Linked DNA regions of Homo sapiens: all the other regions are linked to region 1. The links are contacts of gene promoters, found by promoter capture Hi-C in blood cells and fetal thymus (Javierre and others, 2016). All regions are on one chromosome and are shown on one strand. Each heading gives the region's core, a stretch centred on a gene start or on the middle of the fragment in contact. The rest is flanking DNA. Distances are from core to core; before and after follow the strand shown.

The links. Contacts are between HindIII fragments. The CHiCAGO score rates a contact against its expected background, and 5 or more counts as called.
Region 2: the fragment with the promoter of CCNP here is called in contact with the fragment with the promoter of DYRK1B in region 1 in 14 of 17 cell types (neutrophils, erythroblasts, M2 macrophages and 11 more); the score reaches 22.0 in neutrophils.
Region 3: a contact is called between the fragment with the promoter of ZNF780A here and the fragment with the promoter of DYRK1B in region 1, in 1 of 17 cell types (fetal thymus). The highest score is 5.2, in fetal thymus.

What each region holds. Positions count from the first base shown.
Region 1 is chr19:39,832,639-39,835,830 of GRCh38, reverse strand. DYRK1B (dual specificity tyrosine phosphorylation regulated kinase 1B) reads left to right here and starts at 1,669. Exons shown (of 11, transcript NM_004714.3): 1 at 1,669-1,808. FBL (fibrillarin) reads left to right here. Exons shown (of 9, transcript NM_001436.4): 8 at 1,018-1,163; 9 at 1,269-1,373. The coding sequence ends at 1,293. RefSeq lists silencers at 1,857-1,966, 2,227-2,496. The HindIII fragment of the contact is 24,958 bases long and covers 1-3,192 here.
Region 2 is chr19:40,225,097-40,228,288 of GRCh38, reverse strand. It overlaps CCNP (cyclin P), which reads left to right and starts at 1,600. Exons shown (of 5, transcript NM_024877.4): 1 at 1,600-1,914. The coding sequence starts at 1,648. RefSeq lists an enhancer at 1,213-1,766 and a silencer at 1,793-1,912. The HindIII fragment of the contact is 9,498 bases long and covers 24-3,192 here.
Region 3 is chr19:40,089,198-40,092,389 of GRCh38, reverse strand. ZNF780A (zinc finger protein 780A) reads left to right here and starts at 1,447. Exons shown (of 6, transcript NM_001142578.2): 1 at 1,447-1,484; 2 at 2,155-2,224. RefSeq lists a silencer at 1,296-1,625 and an enhancer at 1,173-1,714. The HindIII fragment of the contact is 842 bases long and covers 1,051-1,892 here.

The DNA.
Region 1 (3,192 bases), core at 420-2,919:
CCTCAGCCTCCTAAGTAGCTGGGACTACAGGCGTGTGCCACCACACCTGGCTAACTTTTATATTTTTAGTGGAGACGGGGTTTTGCCATGTTGCTCAGGCTGCTCTGGAGCTCCTGAGCTCAGGCAATCTGCCTGTCTCAGGCTCCCAAAGTGCTAGGATTACAGGCACGAGCCACTGCACCCAGCCAAAAACTTTCATTAAGCCTTTTATCACATTTCCTAAACCCGAGTGTCTTAGCCCATTTTATGCAGCTATCACAGAATGCTATAGACTGGGTAATTTATTTATTTTTATTTTTATTTTTATTTTTTTGAGATGGAGTCTTACTCTGTCACCAGGTTGGAGTGCAGTGGTACGATCTCGGCTCACTGCAACCTCCAGTTCCTGGGTTCAAGCGATTCTCCTGCGTCAGCTTCCCGAGTAGGTGGGACTACAGGTGTGCGCCACCACACCCGACTAATTTTTGTATTTTTAGTAGAGATAGGGTTTCACCGTGTTGGCCAGGATGGTCTCAATCTCCTGATTTCGTGATTGAGCCACCTCGGCCTCCCAAAGTGCTGGGATTACAGGCGTGAGCCACCACGCCCAGCCTTAGACTGGGTAATTTATAATGAATGGAAATTTATTTGGCTCCCAGTTCCAAAGGCTGGAAAGTCCAAGATTGGAGGTCTGAATCTGGCGAGGGCCTTCTTGCTGTCATCCATTGGCAGAAGGGTGAGAGCAAGATAGAAAGGGGGCATAATCATCCTTTTAATCAGCAACCCACTCTTGTGATAATAGCATTACTCTATTCAGGAAGGCAGAGGCCTCATGACCTGAATCATCTCTCGAAGGTCCCACCTCTCAACTCTTGCATTTAAGGGTTACGTTTCCAACACATGAACTTTGGGGGACACACTAGAACCATAGCACTGAGTTTTACTTGAATTAATAATGAAAACATCTGGTTTAAAGAGCACACAAGAGAAAAACAGCCCAAAGCCCTGTTGTAGACATTAGTCCTTTCTCCTCTTTAGGCCAACTGCATTGACTCCACAGCCTCAGCCGAGGCCGTGTTTGCCTCCGAAGTGAAAAAGATGCAACAGGAGAACATGAAGCCGCAGGAGCAGTTGACCCTTGAGCCATATGAAAGAGACCATGCCGTGGTCGTGGGAGTGTACAGGTGAGCAGGGGCCCAGCAATACACCAAGACAGACATCTCTGTCCCTTGCACCCCGAGTGCCATGATCCTGGGGACCCTCCTTCATCACCTATCTTCCTCTCACAGGCCACCCCCCAAGGTGAAGAACTGAAGTTCAGCGCTGTCAGGATTGCGAGAGATGTGTGTTGATACTGTTGCACGTGTGTTTTTCTATTAAAAGACTCATCCGTCTCCCATGTCTGCTGCTCATTCCTCCCCTTGACCTGCTGACACAGGGAGCACGCACCCTTGGTCAATTTTGCGGGGTTGGGTAAATTCTCACTCGGTCACAGAGCGCATGCTCCGTTTCTAGCTGCCTTTGCGCAGCGGCAGCCTGGATTTCGGTTCTTGGGTGGGATTGGTAGCTCGCTGCGCATGCGTGCAGGTAAGCGGCCATCTCGCGCAGGCGGAGTGTCAGTGTGGGTCACGTGAGGGGAGCGGAGAGGGAGGGATGGGGGCGGAGTCCAGGGCGTGGGGGGGCCGGTTTGTTGTGGTCGCCATTTTGCTGGTTGCATTACTGGGTAATCGGGGCCCTGGCTTGCCGCGTCCGCCGGATACCCTCAGCCAGTGGGCAGGTCTGAGCTCGGGCTCCCCGAGCAGTTTGAGTCCCCTTGCCCGCTCCTTCAGGTAACGGCGCGGGGACGGGTGGGGCGGCAAGCGGTCGCAGGGAGGTGGGCAGGACGGGATCCGCCCTGCTCCCGTCGCCGTGAGACTTAGCACGAGGCCAAGGGAGGAGAGGAGGGGGGTGGCAGGCAGGTGCGGGCCCTGCCTGGCTATTCATAGTTGAATTCCTGGAACCGGCCAAGCCCGAGGAAGCAGTTGCAGGAGGGAGGCTGGGAGGGGGTAGCCGGGCCCCACTCCCGCCCTTTGTTTGGGCTCAGCTCCGCGGGCCGCTTCTTCGTCGCCTAGCAACAGCTGCCCTAGGCTGTGATTGGCTGAGCTCTTGGCACCAGCGACCAATGGTACAGTTGTTGCCATGGCAGGTGCCGATTGCCAAGCTCAGTCGGGCCCCGCCTTCCGGTCTCAGCAGGCCCAGGAGGGCCTCCTGGGTGGGGGGCGGGACGCCGGGTCCCTAGGGGCTGGTGGTCACTCAGGGTGGGGCGTGTCGCCCCTCCCCCGTCCACCTGCTCTACTCTTCCCCCGCGTGCCCTGGGCTGACCCTTGTCCCCTCCTCTCCCCGCCCCCGGTGGCAGTGGCGGCTGCTGTTGTCACCCACCGGGCCTCCTGTCCCGCTTGCCCTCCCCGCCGCGGGGCCGGCCGGGCCAGAGACAGGCGGTCGCCTTTTCAGCGCCGCCACCGCCGCCATGCTGGCCGCTCGCCCACCCCACTGGGGGCCCCACCGCGCCCCAGCCCCCCGTGGGCCCCGCGCCAGCCCTGACCCGGGTAGGGGGTGGGGGCTGGGAGAGATGATCCTGGTGTGGGAGGGCCCCGGAGAAGAGGTGGTTTTTTGGGGGAAGCTCCAAGGGTGGAGGAGTCGTGGAGTGGCAAGGCATGGAATAGGAGAAAGGGATTTGACATGGGGGAGAGAGTGGCCCATGGGGAGAAGATTTTTGCTGTAGCTGACAACTCTGGGAGGAGAGAACCCTATGTGATAACTTGGGGATTTGACTTTGAGGCCCTCTAGGAGTGGACACAGTTGTGGAATGACCCTGGTATAAAGAGGGGTGCCTGGAGAAAGGTCTGTGGTAGGAATATTAGGGTGTGTGTGTGTGTGTAGGGGGGCAAGGAAGCAGTGTAGGGGAGAAAAGGATGATCACTCTAAACTGTGGGAAGAGACACCTCCTCCTTCTCCCATCAGGAGGAGTGGGCCTTGATTGGGATGGGATATTGGAGTAATATGGGGAAGAACCCTGTTGTGGTAGGGGGAATTGGGATATGGTACAGGGAGACTACCTGGAAGGCTGGTTCCTAATATGGAGGACCTGAAATAGGGAAGCGGTCTTGGCATGATATGGAGAGGGTCCCCTAGGAAAATCGTGCCCTGGTGGATGAGAATGCTGTAGAGATAGGA
Region 2 (3,192 bases), core at 351-2,850, 390 kb before region 1:
CCTTAACTTTGGCAAAATAAGCTTTCTAAATTGATTGACACCTATCTCAGATACCTTTTGGTTTACACAGTTAATAAACATCTTGTGTAGAGACATTTTGTAGATATCCCGATTCCTATCAGATGTTCACCCACTAGTTTGAACATCTATTGATATTTCTTGCATGAAACGATGCTGTGGTGGTTGCCAAATAGGATTTTCCAACCTTCTACATTATTAGTTCGGCCAGTCATGGCGGCCCACACCTGTAATCCTAGCACTTTGGGAAGCCAAGGTGGGAGGATTCCTTGAACCCAGGAGTTCAAAACCAGCCTAGGCAACAAAGTGATACCCCAGTCTCTACAGAAAAATTTAAAAATTAGCCAAGCATGATGGCGCACACCTGTAGTCCTAGCTACTTGGGAGGCTGAGATGGGAGGATCACTTGAGCCTAGGAGGTTGAGGCTGCAGTGAGCCGTGTTCACACCACTGCACTCCAGCCTGGGTGACAGAGCGAGACCCTGTCTGAAAACAAAACACATTTATTAGTTCACTTTCTAAAGATTAGAAGAGCTTTTCTTTCCCACTGCCTGAGTTATATCAGAATAAACTTGTATTTTAATTTTATTCAGTGGTTTGTGATCTATGACTATCATCTTGATGCTCACATTTTCTAGATTTAGCTAGTGACTTCTGCATCTATGTGACTTGCCCTGCTGTTGGGACACTTTCTGCCACACAAAAATATTCCAGATCTTGTACCTTCTCTTGTATGACCCTGGGATCAGCCATTTCTCCAGGTAGCCCTGGTTCCTTTTAGTGGAGAATGGGATGTGGCGGCCAGGGTTTGGATGTTAGGGGTGCTTCTCACTATTGGGGTGTCGCTGCTCTTAAGCTCTCCCAGTGGATTAAGCTAGGAAATACATGTTTGCATACACACCACTTTTTAAAAAAAATTTTTTTTTTTTTGAGACGGAGTCTCGCTCTGTCGCCCAAGCTGGAGTACAGTGGCCCAATCTCGCTCACTGCAAGTTCCGCCTCCAGGGTTCATGCCATTCTCCTGCCTCAGCCTCCTGAGTAGCTGGGACTACAGGCTCCCGGCACCACGCCCAGCTAACTTTTTGTATTTTTAGTGGAGATGGGGTTTCACAGTGTTAGCCAGGATGGTCTCCATCTCCTGACCTCGTGATCCGCCCGCCTCGGCCTCCCAAAGTGCTGGGATTACAGGAGTGAGCCACCACACCCGGCCACACAACACTTAACTTCTATGTAAACAACCATGTGTTCACACAATTTTATCTCCAATTCCATTGCGACACCGACACCACAAGGGTCATTCTAACCTCCGATCTATGTTTGTACATCCATCCTCTGACGGTGCAAACCCTGATTCTACATTTTGAAATCATCCCGACTTTATGGTCAGGAAAGCGAGGCCCAGAGGGGCTGCTTCCGGGCAGCAGGATGAGGATCTGTCTCCAGCTGTCCGACCTTAGAGGGCTTCGAGAGGACAGAGCCAGCCTGCGGGGCACTCACCTTTGTGCACCTGCCCGGGCGAGGCGGGCTCAGTGCGCACGCGCCCAGGGGCCTTTAAAGCGCCCGCCGCGCGTCTCTTCCCCTAGCTGCAAGGGTCGGTGCTTGGCCTCGCCCGCAACACCCTCCTGGAGGATGCTGGTGAGAGGCAGGGACCAGGGGTCCGGCTCCCGGCTCGGGCCTATCGTTAGGCGCTGGGCCCCCAGGCCCTCTCCTTTGCAGAGTCTCGCTGCCTCCCTCGACGCAGAGCCTTCAAGCGCCGCAGTCCCCGACGGCTTCCCCGCGGGCCCCACTGTCTCCCCAAGACGCCTGGCGAGGCCGCCGGGGCTGGAGGAGGCGCTGAGCGCGCTGGGGCTGCAGGGAGAACGCGAGTACGCCGGGGACATCTTCGCCGAAGTCATGGTGAGCCTACCCGCCGCCTGCCCTGGTGAGGGCGACGCCGGCCCACCGCCCGGCACCCACTCAACACCACTCTGAACTCCCACCGCTCCAGCCTCTCCTCCCTATCACTGGCAGCCGGCGTTCCTTCCCTGCAACGTCCAGGCTTTTGTTTTGTTTTCACACAGCGCCGTTTCTACCGCTGGGAATGCCCTTTCCCACCGTCCCCGGGCTCTTTGCAGTCCCTCCTGGGGTGTTTATGGTCCCCTGTACTTGTCCTCCACATTTATTTGTTTAACAAATATTTAATGGTTTAGTAGCAAATGTTTTAGGTGCTGGAGATGCTGCAATGCTGGCCTCGTTCTGGGGAGATGAGCAAACACATAGAACAACTAGGGAAAGGCCACGCAAACCAAAACATTGGCCTCGCCAGCCTTCAGATATCCCTATGAGAGGGTTGCTGCGGAAGGAAGACTGAAGGGAGGAGTTTGTTGAACGTCTTGCCTGCGACTCTCCTGGGCCAGGATCTCTGTTAGGACCTGAGAGACACTTGTGTTGTGGGCAGAAGTCCCTGCCCTCGTGGGACTGGCAGCCTAGCGGCCAAATAGACAAAGCACACAGGGAGACATCTTCACAGTGAAAATGCTGAGACAAAGAGATAGTGATCGGGTGGTAGGAGTATAGACAAAGTCATGGAGATGTTAGCTGAATGACGGAAAGGTCGAGTAAGGGGCTGGGGAAGGACCCTCTCTGTAGAGGAAACAGGAAGTGCAAAGGGCCTGGGGTAGGAATGGGCTTGGTATAGTCTAGGAGCTAAAAAGAAGGCAGCTGTGGCTGACGCATGGGTTGTGGGGAGAGAGAGGGAAGAGGTGATGCTGGAGCAGAGCCTGAAAGAAATCAGAGTTTTCTCCAAGGGTACTGGGAGCCATGGAAGGGTTTTAAGCTGGGGAGTTCCTTGGTCAGATCTTTCTTTGGGAAGATGCTTCTGGGTGCTCTGAGGCAGAGGGGTTGAGGATTCGTGGTCAAGAGTTGAAGTCTGAGGCCGGGTGCAGTGGCTCATACCTGTAATCCCAGCACTTTGGGAGGCTGAGGTGGGCGGATCACCTGAGGTCAGGAGTTCAAGACCAGTCTGGTCAACATGGTGAAACCCCGTCTCTACAAAAATATAAAAATTAGCCGGGCATGGTGCCACATGCCTGTAATCCCAGCTACTAGGGAGGCTGAGGCGGGAGAATCGCTTGAACCCAGGAGGCGGATGTTGCAGTGAGCCAAGATTGCGCCATTGCACTCCAGCCTGGGCAA
Region 3 (3,192 bases), core at 198-2,697, 260 kb before region 1:
TCCAGCTTTCTTTTGACTAGTGTTAGGATGGTGTATATTTTTCCATCCTTTTACTCTTAACCTTTTAGTGCTTTTCATTTAACATATTACCTGTAGGTAGCACCCATTTGGGTCTGACTTTTTGTTTATTTATTTATTTAATTATCTTTTTTTATTATACTTTAAGTTCTAGGGTACATGTGCACAAAGTGCAGGTTTGTTACATATGTATACATGTGCCATGTTGGTGTGCTGCACCCATTAACTCGTCATTTACATTAGGTATATCTTCTAATGCTATCCCTTCCCCCTCCCCCGACCCCACTATAGGCCCCGGTGTGTGATGTTCTCCACCCTGTGTCCAAGTGTTCTCATTGTTCAATTCTCACCTATGACTGAGAACATTTGGTGTTTGGTTTTCTGTCCTTGCGATAGTTTGCTCAGAATGATGGTTTCCAGCTTCATCCATGTCCCTACAAACGACATGAACTCATCCTTTTTATGGCTGCATAGTATTCCATGGTGTATATGTGCCACATTTTCTTAATCCAGTCTATCATTGATGCACATTTGGGTCTGACTTTTTAAAAAATCCAATCTGACAATCTTTTTAAATTAAGGTGTTTAGACCATTTACATTTAATGTGATTATTGATATGGTTGAGTTAATCATCTTATTTGTTTTCTGTCACAATTCTGGAATGAAAAGACGTTTTGCTCTTTATTATTACATGTTTCCTCCTTATGTAGCATAGGAAACTAGAAAAATGATTTTGAAAGTTAAATATTGTTAGACTACAACAGTGAAATCAGGCTCTTCCTAGGAAAAGCAAGCCCTTTTTTGCATTTGTTTATACTATTTTAACAAAGTGTTAATTATTCATCCTTCAAGATAAGGCAAGTAATTATCTGTGTATTTTTATCCGTTTCCATGTCGTCCTGAATCACGTTTTTCTCTCCAGATAACAGGAACATTGTCTCGAAGAATCCAGGACATTTGATTCTGAAATCTCCAATGTGAACCACACTTCCTCTCCTAGTATATAACCAACCAATTCTTTAGTTCAAGCTTTTCAAATTTATCCTAAGTCCCCTTCAAATAGCACAGAGAAGTGGAAGCCTATCGCTGGGGTCTGAGACAAAGGAGTTAAAGCACCTACATGTTGACATAATTTTACTTTAAATTCTTCTTTCTTCTTTAAAAGTTCTGCTCATTTGCATTCTCCATGGAGAGAAAAAGTAAATTATACTGACGCTCCGAGAGGGAAACGCTCTTCTCACATGGGGATCCTTGCTCATGGCAACAACCTGTGCACCCCGCGGGCTGGAACTCCCACGAATCCACTAGGCTCGGCTCCCTTAGGGGTCAGCCCCCATAGTATGCTGGGATCAACCTGAACGGATCACAGCTCAAGGCTTCTGAGGCTTTTTCTGTTCGGGACTGTATTTCCCAGCGGCCACCGCGCCAGTCCACTTCCGGTCTCCGGGGTCGACGACATAGCGGGGTAAGGTCTTCACGTCTGAGGAAGAGATCTGTGGCTGCGGGAGATCTCTGCGGATTGGGGCTCCAGCCTGACTGACCCGACAGTGCGGGTGGCCTAGGGGGAGGCGCTCAGAGTAGGAACCCGGGGGTGCAGACGGGATCTGCCGGATCCCCAGGCGTGTGTGTGCGCGGGTATCAGAGGAGGGGGATTGTGAGATCATGAGTGACGGAGGGGACTGTGAGTGTGTGCGTGAGGTTCTATGCACAGGCCCGGGAGGGCGTGTGGACGCAGCGCACTTTGCTGAGTGACACTGTGCCGGTGCCCCTAGGCTCCTGCTGCTTCCTCCCTCTTTCCGCTTCACAGCTGCGGGGACTGCAGCAGAGGAATGGCCCCAGTAGGGAGGTCAGATATTGAGCCGAGAATGAAGCTTTACACAAGAAAGCGCAGAAGTGCCCCCGAGTGTTCCCCAGGGGGGCAGCTACATGTTGAGAACCACAGCGTCCTCAGAGCTCTGTCCCCAGAAACCAGCTCCAAACTGGTTGTACTGGTTGAATCGATTCCTCTTCCTTTTACTTCCTTCCTATTTCGTGTGAAGTGAGGGAAATTGTGGCTATGGAGGGAGGGTGTTTTCAAACTTAGTCTGCGCTCCAAGAAATGCCTGGAGTCTCACGCTTGCCGTATCCTTCTCCAGTCGTATTTTTATCCAAAAGAAGGACCTGGAGGAGGATGAGAGCGTTACTGCTGCACACCTAAAGTCAAGGGTGAGTTTGTGCTTTGTATTTGTTCAAGACATGCGTTTTTGATTTTAGAATATTGAGATTTCCCCTTAAATTTTCAGTGAAACTAGGGGGATATGCAAATTGATTCGTGCCCCCTCCTTCACCTTTCCACTTAATAGTCACAAAACAATTTGGCAAATCGTTCACACCTTCCTGTGCGCTCTCTTTTTCGAAGCTGGTATAGAAATACACCTCCAGTAGTTAATATTAAAGCTCCATTTTAGACCCATATTTGGGAAGGAGGAGATTAGTGTTTAGGTGGAATCACACACTAGACATCAGTTGGTCTTTACAGACCTCCTTTTCAAAACAGGGAAGAATGGAGATGGTTGGATGATCTCCATTGCCTGTGAGGCATTCGGTAGTGGAAAAGTGACCGCACAGAAATTGGTATCAACAAGAGCCAGGATTTTTCCAGGGAGTCCATGAGATGATATTTGTAATACTTGCCAGATCTCTCTGAGGTTTGGCAGCTCCAGTTGTGTTTTAGGCGTGTGTGTGTGAGTGTGTGTGTGTGTGTGTGTGTGTGTACTGTGAGAGGCAGTACACTGTTGTGGTTAAGAATAGGGGAGTGGATCCAGAGTATCTGGGTTGGAATATTGGTTCTGTCATTAGAATGAATTAATATCGTAAAGCCCCTTAGAGCAGTGCTAGGCATATAATAATGTTTAATATGTTTTAACTGTTGTTTTTTGTGTAGTCATTTTAAGTCATTCCCCTTGACTCTCTACAGAACAGGAGCATTGGGAATATGTGATTCATTGCGACTGCTGGTTGTATATTAAGAAAATGAGTGAGGGGCTCAAATGATCTAGGACAGAAATTCTTTCTTTTTAAATCGACAGATATAATTGTATGTATTTATCATGTGCAACATGAAGTTTTATGGTATGTATACATTGTGGAATGACTAAATCTAGCTAATTAACAATGCATTACCTCACATAGTT